2 separate regions of the Homo sapiens genome follow, and region 2 is linked to region 1. Evidence: promoter capture Hi-C in human tissues and cell types (Jung and others, 2019). All regions are on one chromosome and are shown on one strand. Each heading gives the region's core, a stretch centred on a gene start or on the middle of the fragment in contact. The rest is flanking DNA. Distances are from core to core; before and after follow the strand shown. Region 1 holds the start of IRF5 (interferon regulatory factor 5). Region 2 has its middle 13 kb from the start of SMO.

Evidence for each region. The method cuts DNA at HindIII sites, captures the fragments that hold promoters and counts their contacts. A contact is called where the count stands out against the background at its distance.
Region 2: a fragment that was not itself captured here is called in contact with the fragment with the promoter of IRF5 in region 1 in 1 of the 25 tissues and cell types used here (lymphoblastoid cells).

What each region holds. Positions count from the first base shown.
Region 1 is chr7:128,934,444-128,941,492 of GRCh38, reverse strand. IRF5 (interferon regulatory factor 5) reads right to left here and starts at 3,566. Exons shown (of 9, transcript NM_001098629.3): 1 at 3,444-3,566. RefSeq lists enhancers at 710-759, 870-1,099, 2,590-2,659, 2,693-3,276, 4,944-5,238 and 2 more and silencers at 2,940-3,699, 6,434-6,523. The HindIII fragment of the contact is 4,364 bases long and covers 3,388-7,049 here.
Region 2 is chr7:129,172,357-129,179,405 of GRCh38, reverse strand. No RefSeq gene overlaps it. Among named protein-coding and RNA genes, the nearest start is that of SMO, 13 kb to the left of the region's middle. The HindIII fragment of the contact is 6,954 bases long and covers 1-6,569 here.

The sequences.
Region 1 (7,049 bases), core at 2,317-4,816:
CACCTGCCCTCAGAGGAAAGCAGTTTCTCAATATCTTTAGAGAAATCCCATCAACCAACTCAACCCACCTCCAATGACAGCAGGCACCAAACAGATGTTACCTCTCTAGGGCCATTCATCTAGGTTCTTGGTCCTCCCCCTTCTCCTCCCACTGGACACGCATTCGGGTAGCACTTAGGAAGGCCCTAACGCCTGCCGGAGCCTGTTAGGAAGGCTACAGGAAACAGAAGCCACAGCTCTAACTGCTACCTACCCAGGGGCACGAGCCCCGCCTCCCAGGCCACAGCTTCACTGCCTCCCTGGAGTCAGGCCAGAGGGACCCTGCCTCCTCCCCTTCACCTGCCCAACTCCCTCTCCAGCCCAGAACCGGAAACTCTCCACAGTCCTGAGTCCCCTTCTGTCCCTCTCCTCCCCTTACCCATGCCCTTGGCCCTTCACTTGAGACCCCTGGGTGGAAGACAGAAAGGACTGGGTCATTACACAGCACAGCCCATCAGAAGTGAATGTGTCGGTCAGCAAGTAAGGAGCAAACGTTCGAGCTGAACTCCCTGTGTCTGGGCCTGCTTTGGCCTTGCAGCATGGAGCCTCAGTTTCCCCTGAAATTCCCTGCCCAGTACCTTTTGGGGTTGCACCTGCCTAGTGCCGCCTCTGAGCTGCTACTGTCTCACATTGCAGGCCTCCCTCAGAGCCCAGCTCTGCTGCCACCAACCCAGGAGAGGTAAGGCCGGCCCTTGCCTGGCCCAGGGGCTGGGACGGGGAGGTGTTCAGAACGCTCCAGCCCTGCCCTGGCCTCAGAACACGCGGGCTCAGTTCCGCTTTCTGCCCCAGCCTCCACCCGGCCCCAGGGGAAACGAAAGTGGCTAGACCGGGACAACTCAGAAACCAGACTCACTGTGGGCTGAGGGAGGGAGCCGAGTGGGTCCCCCAGACCAAATTTCCAACCTCCCACCCAGAGCTGTTCCCCGCACCCCAAACTTGCAGACAGTTTTTGTGCATTTAGTGTGGTTTATAACATGGGTGTGCACCCACCCATAGTTGTATCTGTAGACCCCTGAGAGGCCTTGGCCCTAGAATAGAGGGGTGCCAGTCACCAGCGGCACACAATTCTGGCCGAGCAAGGGTGGACAGAGGAAGCTCTGTCTGCACAGAATCGGGGAGAGCTTCCCTAATGACCCCCTGGGCTGAGGCCGTGCAGGCGCTGGTGCCGTTGGGGAGCTCAGAGGGTCCGGCTGCCTGCCCCCTACTGTCAGTCCAGCAGTCTGGCCCTGCCCAACACGGCTGTTTAATACAGAGCAAGGTTTTGAAATGATAACTCCGACCTCAGTGTCAGAGGGCCGCGTCCATACAGGCAGCTTAGGGAGGGGTGTGGAGGAGGAGCTCCCGTGACAAGCCCGGCTGTGATGAGCGAGAGTCTGTCCACCATGCCACAGAAGGGACTCAGCCTCAAGGCTTTTGCCTGCAGCTAGGTCCACACGAGCTCTAACCCGAACAGCATCCATCCTCCTAGAAGCTCCCTTCTGCCCAGAAAAGGGCTAGGTCTAATTCAGACCACCCCAATCAAGGCCCATGACTTTGGAAGTTCGGTGTCAGAACAGGTCTGCCTGCCAGGCTCCGGAGTCTCTGGGTGAAATGTATGGAGCCCTAGACCTAAGTCAATGGACCTGAGCCCCGGAAGGTGGGGAAATCCAACAGCCTGAGGAAGTCCCTACAATTGTGTGAGGCAGCGAAGCATCCAGTGGGCAGCCCTAGAGGACCTGCTGAGGTGGGGTAAGCCCACAGCTCACCCCAGGGCCATGCTGGAGTCCCAGGAGACAGTGCCCCCACCACCACCCAGGAGCTGCAATTCATGGGCACCAGGGACCCACTAGGGGAGGAAGTGCCACAGCAGTCCTAGTAAGAGTGGCCAGACAGCAGGCGCCCTGCTGCTCCCAGGGTTGGTCTGGGTCACATGTCTCCTTGCAAACCCACACCCAGCTCAGGGAGAGGACAAGGGGTTCCCTGTACAGGCCCTGACCCCCAAATCCCACCCCTCCGGGTCAGCTGCCCACACCCTGGGCCCTGCTGCCCACCTGGTCCAGACAGGCTGAGGCTCTGGGGCAAAAGGTGCCCAGAAAGAAGCTTCTTTCAGCTTCCTCCCAGGGTCAGGGTAGGGGAAGACCAGGGTACAGGGGAAAAACCCCAAAGTAGGGCCTTTAGATAAAAAGGGGTGATTTCCCAGTGCTTCCCTTGACTCTTGGAACCCCTCAGCCCCAGCACCCCAGGCCCCATAACTACTGGGGGTGGGGGCAGGAAGGGGAGGTCTTGCCAGAGGGCCTCCTGAGGGGCTACAGTTTCCTACATCGATACAGCCGAGCCCTCTCTGGTTCTGGTCACTTATCCCCATTCTGGGCCCTCGAGGAGCCCAGGCCCAGCCCAGTCCTCCGCCCCTGCTCCCCCCTCCCCTCCGCCCCCACCCCTCCCGCGTGCTCCGCTGGGGCACACCCCCTGGGCCAGCCCGCGGAGCCACCCCCACCTCCAGAGTCGGCCTCTGGACCTCTCCTCCTGCTGCTGGAGGAGCAGCACCCCGGTCCTCGCCCTGCTGTGTTCAGCGTGGCCGCGAGGCTGGGAAAGTCCCCCACTCCAGCCTCTGCTCCCAGGTACCCGCTCCCGCCCCTCCCGGGGTCCGGAGACAACCATCTCCCCACGCATCCCGGCCATGCTAGCCTCACTTTTCCTCCACGTTTAGCCTCTTCATTGTTGCCTTCTTAAGTTCTGGGACAGGACCTGAGGAAACCAGCCCAGGAACTATTGCGCCCCATCCTTTTCCGCTGCTCGGGGGACGAGAGTCTGCCATTCCCGGCCGCGAGCCCAGGGACGCAGCCTCTACCTGACACCATCTTCCCCCAAACTCTTGCACAGTTCCTGCCATTGGCCTGAAGATCCCGGGGGATGAACGCTTTAACCTCAACCTCTTTTCCGAAAGGGTGAGGGTGGCCCGGTAAGAGCAAGGGCGAGTGCATCGAAAGTAAGGATCGGGCCTCGCTCCTCTGTGGTCCAAGCCAGCCTCCAGCGGGGCTCCCGGGAACCCCCATTCTGGGCGATGGCGAGGGGGAGGGAGAGCAGCAGAGCCGGCGCCCCCCGCAGCGCTGCCCACTCCGCCGCCTGGGTCACTGGGCTCCCCGGGCGCCAGCACCCCAAACCGATCGGGGCGTGGGAGGCGCTTTGGAAGTCCCAGGCCGGCCGGGCGCACCCTGCTGTAGGCACCCACCCGAGCTCGCTTTCCAGGCGCAGCTGGACGCGGACCCCGCCCTACTCCAGTCTTCATCCCGCCGCCCGCAGGTGCCTGGGGGGCGCGGGGCCCAGTCTAGGCCTAGACTTGGGGGCAGTAGCCGGCACCGCTCCCGCCACCCTCGGGGCGCGCCGGGCGCGGACGCAGAGAGGAGAGCGCGGCGGCCGGGACCCACCTGTCTGCGGTGCGCCTGCGTGGCTGCGCCAGGGAGCACCGGCCGGGCGGCGGGACCAAGCTGAGCTCTGCCCAGGCTGCGCCTCCCGCCGGTCCGCCAACCTGCCGGGCACTTCCGCGTCTTGCCGCCCCCGCCCCTGGGCAGCTGCTGCTGAGCTCCGGGCGCGGGCAGTGCCCCGCCCCGCCCCGCGAATCCACTCCGGGCCCCGCACTGACCTGGCAACTGCAGATCCGGGCTGAGCCTCGGGCCAGGCCCAGGGCCTCCAGGGAGATGCCAGACGGCGCGGTGCCCTAGACTGGCCACTGGCTCTTTTGGCAATCTGGAATGGCAAAACTGTCATTTGACAACCCCGTACCTCCCGCTGCAGTGCTCAGTTGGGCCCTGGGAGAGGGTGGGGTGCTTCCCCACTCTGGTCCTCCGGGGCTGCACACAAATGAGGGCGCAGTGTGGCCGACCCACAGCTCCAGGCCCTCCTCTCGCCTGCCTACACCCCTGGCGAGGGTGGCTCTCGCCCTAGAACACAGTCGCTGCCCCCAGGATCCAGACACCCCTTCCAGATGTGCTTGCAGGCGGGAATCCTCTAGTCACTCTGTGCCTTTCTCATCCTCAAACCCTGCACCTGTCTCGCCCCAGCTCCCCTAAGTCGCCTTCCAGTCATCCCAGGGGCAGCGGCGTGGTCGCCTGTCCCACCTCCTCTCACTACTACCTTGACCGTCGACCTGTGGTTCTGAACCGTTTTCGATTCCATAAAGAACCTCACCCCAGAACCTCCACCTTCACACACCTCCTGTTCCTTCTCATGGAATGTTCTTCGCTTGGTAACTCTTGCTCTTCAAAATTTCTGTTTCTGAAATTTTCAGCATCGCCTTCTCTGGAAAGTCTGCCTTGACTTCCCCTCCCAGGTGGGGTTCCAGGGTGCAAATAGCTTCCTGGTTGATTTTGCTTATGATTTTGTTATGGATTGCCAGGGGTTTGGTCCAGGTCTGGCTGCTCACCGCACAGAAAGCCTATCACTGAGACAGCGAGTATTGCCAGGGAAGACTTTATTCCGGTGACATCAGCCAGTGAGCTGTTGAGAGGGGAGACAAACCTCCAATCCATCCCTCCCCTTGACTAAAGTTAGGGGCTTATATAGCAGGGAAGGAAAACAGGAGGGACAAGGAAGAGGAATTGGTCAACAGGCAGCAGGTGTACTGATGTAAGTGTCTCAAGCTTCAGTTCTATGAGCATCTGGCTTTTTGGAAAATTCAGCGGGTTTCAATTTTGATGTCTGATTTCCACTCGAATCAGCTTACTCAGGAACCTCCCTCCTGTCTTTTCATTGTTCATTTTATTTTATTTTATTTTTTGATATGGAGTCTTGCTCTGTCACCCGGGCTGGAGTGCAGCAGTGCGATCTCAGCTCACTGCAACCTCTGCCTCCCCAGTTCAAGCGATTCTCCTGCCTCAGCCTCCCAAGTAGAGACGGGGTTTCACCATGTTGGCCAGGCTGGTCTCGAGCTCCTGACCTCAGGCGATCCACCCGCCTTGGCCTCCCAAAGTGCTGGGATTACAGGCGGGAGCCACTGCGCCAAGCAGAGCCTTGTATTTTTAACAAATAAAGTAGTATTTGTTGATGAATCAGAACTTTGACCTTCCCTCCCCTCCCTTCTCCTGGGTTGAACTTTACCTTTAACAAGTTAAAAAAAGACACTCATGTGTTAACGTTTTTTTTTTTTCTCTTCTGTATCTCTCCCTCTTTCCTGACCTTTGAAGCCCTAATATGAAGTCGAAATATCATTATATATAAGTATTTTATTATTTGTATCTGCTGAGTATTTCATTATTTCATATTTTTAAAATTTAAAGTATGGATGGGGAAAATGTGAATGGGTAGATCGTTTTATATTTCTTTCTTTAAAAATGAAATTGCTAGGCCAGGCACGGTGGCTCACATTTGTAATCCCAACACTTTGAGAGGCTAAGGCAGGCAGATCACTTGAGTCCAAGAGTTCGAGACCAGCCTGGGCAATATGGCAAAACCTTGTCTCTACAAAAAATACAAAAATTAGCCTGGCGTGGTGACACACACCTATAGTTCCACCTACTTGGGAGGCTGAGGTGGGAGAATTGCTTGAACCCAGGAGGCACACCACCGCACTCCAGCCTGGGCGTAGAAGTGAGATCTTATCTCAAAATAATAATAATAAAATGAAATTGCTATTTCAAAAGTGGCTCCCCACAAAATGGGAACCTTTTTCACTGGAGGTCAGTTATGCTTAATAGAAAAATATTCTATGCTGGTCGTATCTGGAGCAATAGCTAAGAAGAGCCTTCTTTTGTTATCAAATACTCCTCACCCATTCTGAGGGACCGTGAGACCCTAGAATTCTGCCCTCTGCCCCCTTCCCACTGTCCATCTTGCTCAGGTGAGGCCCCTTCCTTAGAGCCTCTGAACCTCAAGAAGCAGCACGGGCTGCGTGCAGAGAAGGGGCTTGCACCTGGCTTTGCTGTATTCCAGCCAAGTGGCCTTAAGTAGGACCTCAAATCTCATTTCCTCGTCTCTAAAAGGGGGATGATGTTACCAAGCCGGCAGCATTGATATGGGGCTCCCGGGATAGAGGCTATGCAGGGGCTCAGCTTGGCTCAGATCCTGACTTCCCTCAACTGAAAGAACCTGAGCCAAGAATCATCTGGGGCCAGAGACATGGCCCAGGAGAAAGGAAGGACAGAGAGCAGCACTCCAGTGTTTCCAGGATCTGGGATCCCTTGGCCTCCCAGTGCCATCCTGGGGGTGGAAGGGCAAGTAGAGGGGAAGTGAAGCCACACCCGGCCCTTGTGTGAGCACTCCCATTTCCCCTTGATGGGCCAGGAGGCGGTGGGGACAGGGAGGTCTGTCCGGGCCCCCCACTCCCCACAGTGAGATGGCCCCTTCCCCCATTTCCCCTGGCTGGAATATCACAGACTGAGGGTGTGGTAGGAGGCACCCTCCCCTGACTCGAGTAGAAGCTACGCTGTGTGAGCGAGTGTAGAGTGGGGTGGCTGGGGTGGGGAGCAGGGGGGAGGAGGGAAGCCGTGTCACCAAAGGGAACTGAAAGAAACCCAGAGGCCCACTGGGCAGCTGAACAATGCACCCTGGCTCTGGAACAGCCCCCTTCAGTGCAGCCTGGGTTGATGACAACTGCCTTTGCCTCTCAAAACCTCTACCCCAGGAAACCCACCCCCTCGGCCTGGGCTCTCAGGGGTCCCCAGGCTGACTGTCCTATTTCTCAGAAACCCCGAGTTTCTGAGAACTTGTTGGCTGGACATCAGGCTCTGAGGTCAACAGGTCTGAGTCAAATCCTCACTCTGCAATCTAGAATTGCGTGACCTAAGCAAGCCATTCACTCCCCCAGAAGCCCCATTTCCCATCTGTAAAGGAGAATGGTGACACCAGTGTCACGAATTGGCTGTGAGTCTACATTCAACAATGCTTATCGGGCATGTTGTACCTGCCAGGATAAAGTGGTGGACAATTTCTACTTTGTCTAAAAACCCCTGCCCTCCTGGAGCTTCCATTCTGCAGAGTAAGATAGACGATAAATCCTCAAGTAATGAAATCGGGTGAGGCCTTGAGGGGCACCTCAC
Region 2 (7,049 bases), core at 1,843-4,342, 240 kb before region 1:
TACTGGGGAGGCTGAGGTAGGAGAATCACTTGGACCCAGGAGGCAGAGGTTGCAGTGAGCCGAGATCATGCCATTGCACTCCAGCCTGGGCAAAAGAGTGAAACTTGTCTCAAAAAAAAAAAAAAAAGAAAGAAAGAAAGAAAGAAAGAAAAAAAAATGAAATACTTAAGTACAAATCTAACAAAATTTATAAAGAATCTATATGATGAAAATTATAAAATGGGGATGAAAGAAATCAAAGGCAACCTAAATCCTTGGAGAGGCATACTATGTTCATGAATCAAAAGATCAAACATAGCAAAGATGTCACTTTCCCCTAGGTTGATTCCCTAAGCCTCTAGGTTTAACAAAATTCCTATCAAAATCTCAAGTTTTGAGAAAGAAAGAAAACAAGTTTCTCTGTAGACATAGACAAGCTTATTCCAAAACTAATATGGAAAGTGAAAGGCCTTGCTCAATTTTTGACAAAGATTAAAGTGGGAGGAATCGCTGGCTGATATTAAGGCTGACTATATAGTTACAGCAATCAAGACAATGTGGTACTGGTAGAAAGATAGACACATAGATCAATGTAGCAGAATAGAGAACCCAGAAATATGCCCACATATATGGCCAATTAGTTTTTGACAAAGCAGCAAAAGCAGTTCAATGGTGGAGGAGAACTTTTTCAATAAATGGTGCTAGAGCAATTACATATCCATATGCAAAAAAATAAAAATAAAATAAAACTCTATGTAAACCTCACACACCTTAAACAAAAATTAACTCAAAACAAATCATGCACTTAAATGTAAATATAAAACTTCTAAAAAACACATAGAAAATCTTCAGGACTCATACCAGGCAAAGAGTTCTTAGACTTGATACCAAAAGCACAACCCAGAGCCAGGCACAGTGATGCACACCTGTAGTCCCAGCTACCAGAAGGCTGAAGCAGGAGGATTACTTGAGCTCAGGAGTTCAAGGCTGCAGTGCTCCATTATTGCAGCTGTGAACAGCCACTGCACTCCAGCCTGGGCAACATAGACCTTATCTCTAAAGAAGTTAAATAAAAGTAAAATAAAAAATAAAAAGCAAAACCGGAAGAGGAAAAATTGACAAATTGTATCTCATCAGAATCTGAAACTTTTGCTCTGCAAAAGACACTGTTAAAAGAATAAAAAGACAAATTAAATACTGGGAGAAGATATTTGTAAATTGCATGTCCAAAAAAAGCCTTGTATCTAGAACACGCAAAGAACTTGAAAACAGTACTTAAAAAAACAAACAATCCAATTAGAAAACGGGAAAAAGACACGCACAGGCATTTTACCAAAGAGAATATATAGGTGGCAAATAGACCCATGAAAAGATGTTCAGTATCATTAGCCATTAGAGAAATGCAAATTAAACCATAATGAGATATTACCACATGCTGATCAAAATGACTAAAATAAAAAATTGTGGGCCAGGTGCGGTGGCTCATGCCTGTAATCCCAGCACTTTGGGAGGCCAAGGCGGGCAGATCACAAGGCCAGGAGATCGATCGAGACCATCCTGGCTAACACGGTGAAACCCCGTCTCTACTGAAAATACAAAAAATTAGCTGGGCATTGTGGCACATGCCTGCAGTCCCAGCTACTCAGGAGGCTGAGGCAGGAGAATCACTTGAACCCAGGAGGCGGAGGTTGCAATGAGCCGAGATCACACCACTGCAGTCCAGCCTAAGCGACAGAGTGAGACTGTGTCTAAAAAAAAAAAAAAAAAAAAGTAGTGATGAACACCAAATGCTGGCAATGCTGCGGAGAAACTGAGTCATTCGTATAGTGCTGGGGAACATAAAATGATAGAGCCACTCTGGAAAACAATTTGTCAGTTTCTGGAAAAAACATATATACCATACGACCCAGCAGTCACATTCCTGGGCATCTCTCCAAGAGAAATGAAGGCTTATTTTCACGCAGGAACTTGTACACAAATGGTCGTGGCAGTTTTATTTGTAATAGCTCAAAACTGGAAACCAACCAAATGTCCTTTAATGGGTGAGTGGTTAAACAAACTGTAGTTTATCCATACCATGGAATAATACTCAGAAATAGAAAAGAACAAACTATTGATACACGCAACAACTCGGATGGCGCTCAAAGAAATTATGCTGAGTGAAAAAAGCCAGTCTCAAAAGGATAACTACTGCATGATTCCATTTCTGTAACATTCATGAAATAACATAATTATAGGGGTGGAGAACAGATTGGTGGTTGCCGGAGGTTAGTGACGGTGGGGAGGAATGGGTGTGGCTATGAAGGGGTAACACCAATGTGTCTTGTGATGATGGCACAGTTGAGCATTTTTTTGTAGCAGTTTCATGGAGATGTAATTCACATATACTCCAGTTGAGTATACCTTGATTGTAGTGGTGATTACACAAAACTACATGTGATAAAATTACATAGAGCCATGCACACATATGCAAATAAGTGCATGTATGATTACTGAAATCCAAATAAGTTCTATACATTGTAGCAGTGTCAATTCCTTGGTTCTGATAATGTATCATACTGTAATTGTAGAAGATGTTAACACTGGGTGAGGTTGGGAAAAAGAGCATGGGACTTCCCTTGCATTTCTTTGCAACCTTCTGTGAGTCTGTAATTATTTAACAACAAAAAAAAAATTAAACTTTTTTAAAAAAGTGCCTTGTAGTCCCAGCACCTCATGAAGCTGAGGCAGGAGGAGTGCTTGAGCCCAGGAGTTTGAAGTCAGCCTAAGAAACACAGCAAGACCAAGACCATGTCTCTAAAAAAAACAAAAAACAAAAAATGTCTCATAAAAAATTGCACTCCCTCCATCACTCTCTATCCTCTCAACTTGCTTTATTTTTCTTCATTGTCTATATCTTCATAGCCTGTATCTGACTTTATAGTATATGTAATGGATAAGCTATAACATATATTTGCATACATCTGTCTCCTCCAGTAGAATGTAAACTTAGGAGGGGCAAGCATTTGTTATGTTCTCTCCCTGGTGCTAGAATGGCACCTGGCACACTGCATTTGTTGAGTGAATGTGTGGGTGTACCTGGCTTCCTACAGGTGTCTATTTCATTTATTGTATCTATACAAAAATTAACCTTATAGCCCCCTGCCAGAAACATTACTTTTATTAAGGTATTCACCCCAGACTCTCAGTTCAGAGGAGATTTCACATTTCTTTCTCTTTCTTTCTTTCTCTTTCTTTCCTTCCTTCTTTCCCTTTTCCCTCCCCTCCCCTCCCCTCCCCTCCTCTCCGCTCCCCTTCCCTCCCCTCCTCTCCTCTCACCTTCCCTTCCCTCTTTCCTTCCTTTTTTTTTTTTTTTTTTTTTTTGATAGGGTCTTCCTCTGCCACCCAGACTGGAGTGCAGTGGTGCAACCATGGGTCACTGCAGCCTCAACCTCCTGGGCTCAAGGAATTCTTTTGCCTCAGCCTCTTCAGTAGCTGGGACTACAGGTGCTTGCCACTAGGCTCACCTAATTTTTAAAACTTTTTTGCAGAAAGGGGGTCTTCCTATATTACCCAGGCTAGTCTCAAACTCCTGGGCTCAAGTCATCCTCCCGTCTTTGCTCCCTAAAGTGCTGGGATTATAGGTGTGAGCCACTGTGTCTGGCCACCACATTTTTTCAAATAGCCTTTTTCTGGTAATTACATTTTCATAAAGGCATTTTTTTTTTCTTTTTTTTGGAGACAGACTGTCTCTGACGCCCAGGCTGGAGTGCAGTAGCACACAAACATGGCTCACTACAGCCTCCTTGACCTCCTGGGCTCAAGTGGTCCTTCCACCTCAGCCTCCCATCTAGCTGGGACCACAGGTACATACCATCGTGCCTGGCTAAATTTTTTATTTTTTTCTTGTAGAGATGGGGTCTCCCTGTGTTGCCCAGGCTAGTCTTGAACTCTCAGGCTCAAGTGACCCTCCAACTTCAGCCTCCCAAATTGCTGGGATTATAGGTATGACCCACCATGCCCAGCTGTAAATGAAATTCTTTAGTGGGAAATACATATTTCACCCAATTCTGTTTATTCTTCCCTGGCTCCAATGAGGCCTTTGGGAGTATGTACTCATTTGAAGTCTTTCTGGGAGAGTTAAAACGTCTGCTATGAGAAGGCAGCTAAATAAAGGTCCTTGAATGTCACTGAATTGACCCTATGTTCCTCAAAAAGAGCTTCAGCCTGAATTGTTGAAATTAAGCAATTTTGTAAGAAAAAGAAACAGTACCAGTGGCTCACACCTGTAATCCCAGCACTTTGGGAGGCCGAGGCAGGCAGAACACAAGGTCAAGAGATTGAGACCATCCTGGCCAACATGGTGAAATCCCGTCTCTACTAAAAATACAAAAATTAGTTGGGCGTGGTGGCATGTTCCTGTAGTCCCAGCTACTTGGGAGGCTGAGGCAGGAGAATCACTTGAACCCAGGAGGCAGAGGTTGCGTAAGTGGAGATTGTGCCACTGCACTCCAGCCTGGTGACAGAGTGAGACTCCGTCTCAAAAAAAAGAAAAAGAAACAGTACAAAGAAATGCTTGGTCATCTATCTTACTACAAATGGTCATAATATAGTCTATTGTGCATCTGTGGTTGGCAAAATAATATGCCCTCAAGATATCCATATCCTAATCCCCAGGACCTGTGAATATATTACCTCATATGGCAAAAGGGACTTTGCAAATGGTGTGATTAAGGTTACATTCCTCGAGATGGGGAAAGTATCTTAGATTATGCAGATGGGCCCAACCTAATCACAGGAGTGAAGAATCTTTCCTGGCCGCAGAGAGACAGTAGTGTGAGAAGTACCTGCCCTGCCCTTGCAGGCTTGGAAGATGGAGGATGGGGCCGCCAACCAAGGAAAGCAGGTAGCCTCAAGAAGGAGGAAAAGACAAAGAAATGTATTGTCCCTGGAATCTCCAGCAAGGAATGCAACCCTGCTGATGCCTTGGTTTTAACCCAGTGAGACTCATAGCACACTTCTGACCAACAGAACGTAAGATAAAAAATTTGTGTTGCTTTTTTTTTTTTTTTTTTTTTTTGAGATGCAGTCTCACTCTGTCGGCCAGGCTGGAGTGTAGTGGCATGATCTTGGCTCACTGCAACCTCTGCCTCCTGCGTTCAAGTGATTCTGTCTCAGCCTCCCAAGTAGCTGGGATTACAGACATGTGCCACCACACCTAGCTAACTTTTATACTTTTAGTAGAGACAGGGTTTCGCCATGTTGGCCAGGCTGGTCTCAAACTCCTGACCTTAGGTGATCCACCCACCTTGGCCTCCCAAAGTGCTAGGATTACAGGCATGAGCCACCGCACCCGGCCAAATTTGTGTTGTTTTGAGCGCTGAGTTTGTGGAAAGTTGTTACAGCAGCAAAAGAGTACTAATACAGCATCTTACTCTGATTCTAGTTTTTCTATTAACTCTGCTTGCGAGCAAGAGAAACTAGTTGAGCTTCCCTAAGCAAACAAAACAGGCTTTACTGTAAGCAGATAGGGAAGCCACGGCTGGAAAGCAGTGCCGCTGCAGAAAGGTTCTGGGATTATAGAGGAAAGGCGCTTCTAGGAGGACTCCTCTTCTTCCTCCTCACCGCACTCCACTCCTTCCTTCTCTTGTTTCTGGGAATAGACTTTCTCCATAATCAGTCCCTGGAGCATAAGAGGGCTGGTACCTCAGCCTCCCTTTGCCTTCTCTTTCTTCATGAGACCAGCCCAGGCTGTGACTAGAACCTCATTCTCAATTCCCAAGTCCCAGGGAAATAACTCTGTTTGTTACTGTTTGGGTTAGGTGCCTGTTGTGGGTTGAATTTTGACTTCTTAAAAAAGATATGTTGAAGCCCTAGACCCCTGCACCTCAGATTGGGACCTTATTTGGAGATAGGGTCATTGCAGAAGTAATTAATTAAGATGATGATACTGGAGGCCAGGCGCGTGGTGGCTCACGCTTGTAATCCCAGCATTTTGGGAGGCTGAGATGGTCAGATCACCTGAGGTCAGAAGTTCAAGACCATCCTGACCAACATGGTGAAACCCTGACTCTACTAAAAATACAAAAATTAGCAGGGCGTGGAAGTGCGTGCCTGTAATCCCAGCTACTAGGGAGACTGAGGCAGGAGAATCACTTGAACCCAGGAGGTGGAGGTTGCAGTGAGCCAAGATCGTGACACTACACTCCAGCCTGGGTGACAGAGCAAGACTTTGTCTCAAAAAAAAAAAAAAAAAAAAAAGATGAGGATACTGGAGTACAGTGGGCCTTGATCCAATGTGACTGGCATCCTTATGAGAAGAGGAAAATTGGGACACAGACACAGAGGGAAGATGAAGAGGGAGGCAGAGTCTGCATTTATACTGCCGCAAGCCAAGGAATACCCAGCTACCAGAAGCTGGAAAGGACAAGGAAGGATCCTCCCCTGGAGGCTTCCGGGGAGCATGGCCTGGTCAACACCTTGATTTCAGACTTCCGGCCTCCAAAACTGTGAAACAATAATTATCTGTTGTTTTAAGCGATCTATTTTTGTGGTACTTTGTGATGGGAGCCCTAGGAAACGAATAGAGTGCCTGAGCTGGATCCAATCAGCTATGCCTAGGGGACCAGGCCTTAGAGGATAAATATGGCTCCTCAAGACTCACCCCTATGGCTTGAGGGGTGGATGCCAGTTTCCAAAGAAGAAGGAATCATTGCAAGTTGGGAAGATACACTGAAAAGCTGTCTACTGTAGCTTCCTAGAGCTAGGACAGTATGATATTCTGGTTTTCTTGTTTGTTTTACTTTAAAATCTTAGCTCTTTTACCCTTCTGGAATGCTTTGCAGTGCACAGTGTGAGGTAGGAATCTGTTACTTATTTTCCACACTGTAATAATTCGCCTAATAGCATTTATTAGTAATTATGATTACAGCTTCCTCTCAACATTGCATTGCTTCTTGTTTATTATATAGTGAGCACCGATGTCCAAAATATTTCTGGAATCCCTTTGCTATTTCCATTCATTTGATTGATTTTCCACATTCCCGATATGGTAATGAGAAGACTCTGGAGGCTTAATTTCCAACTGGAGT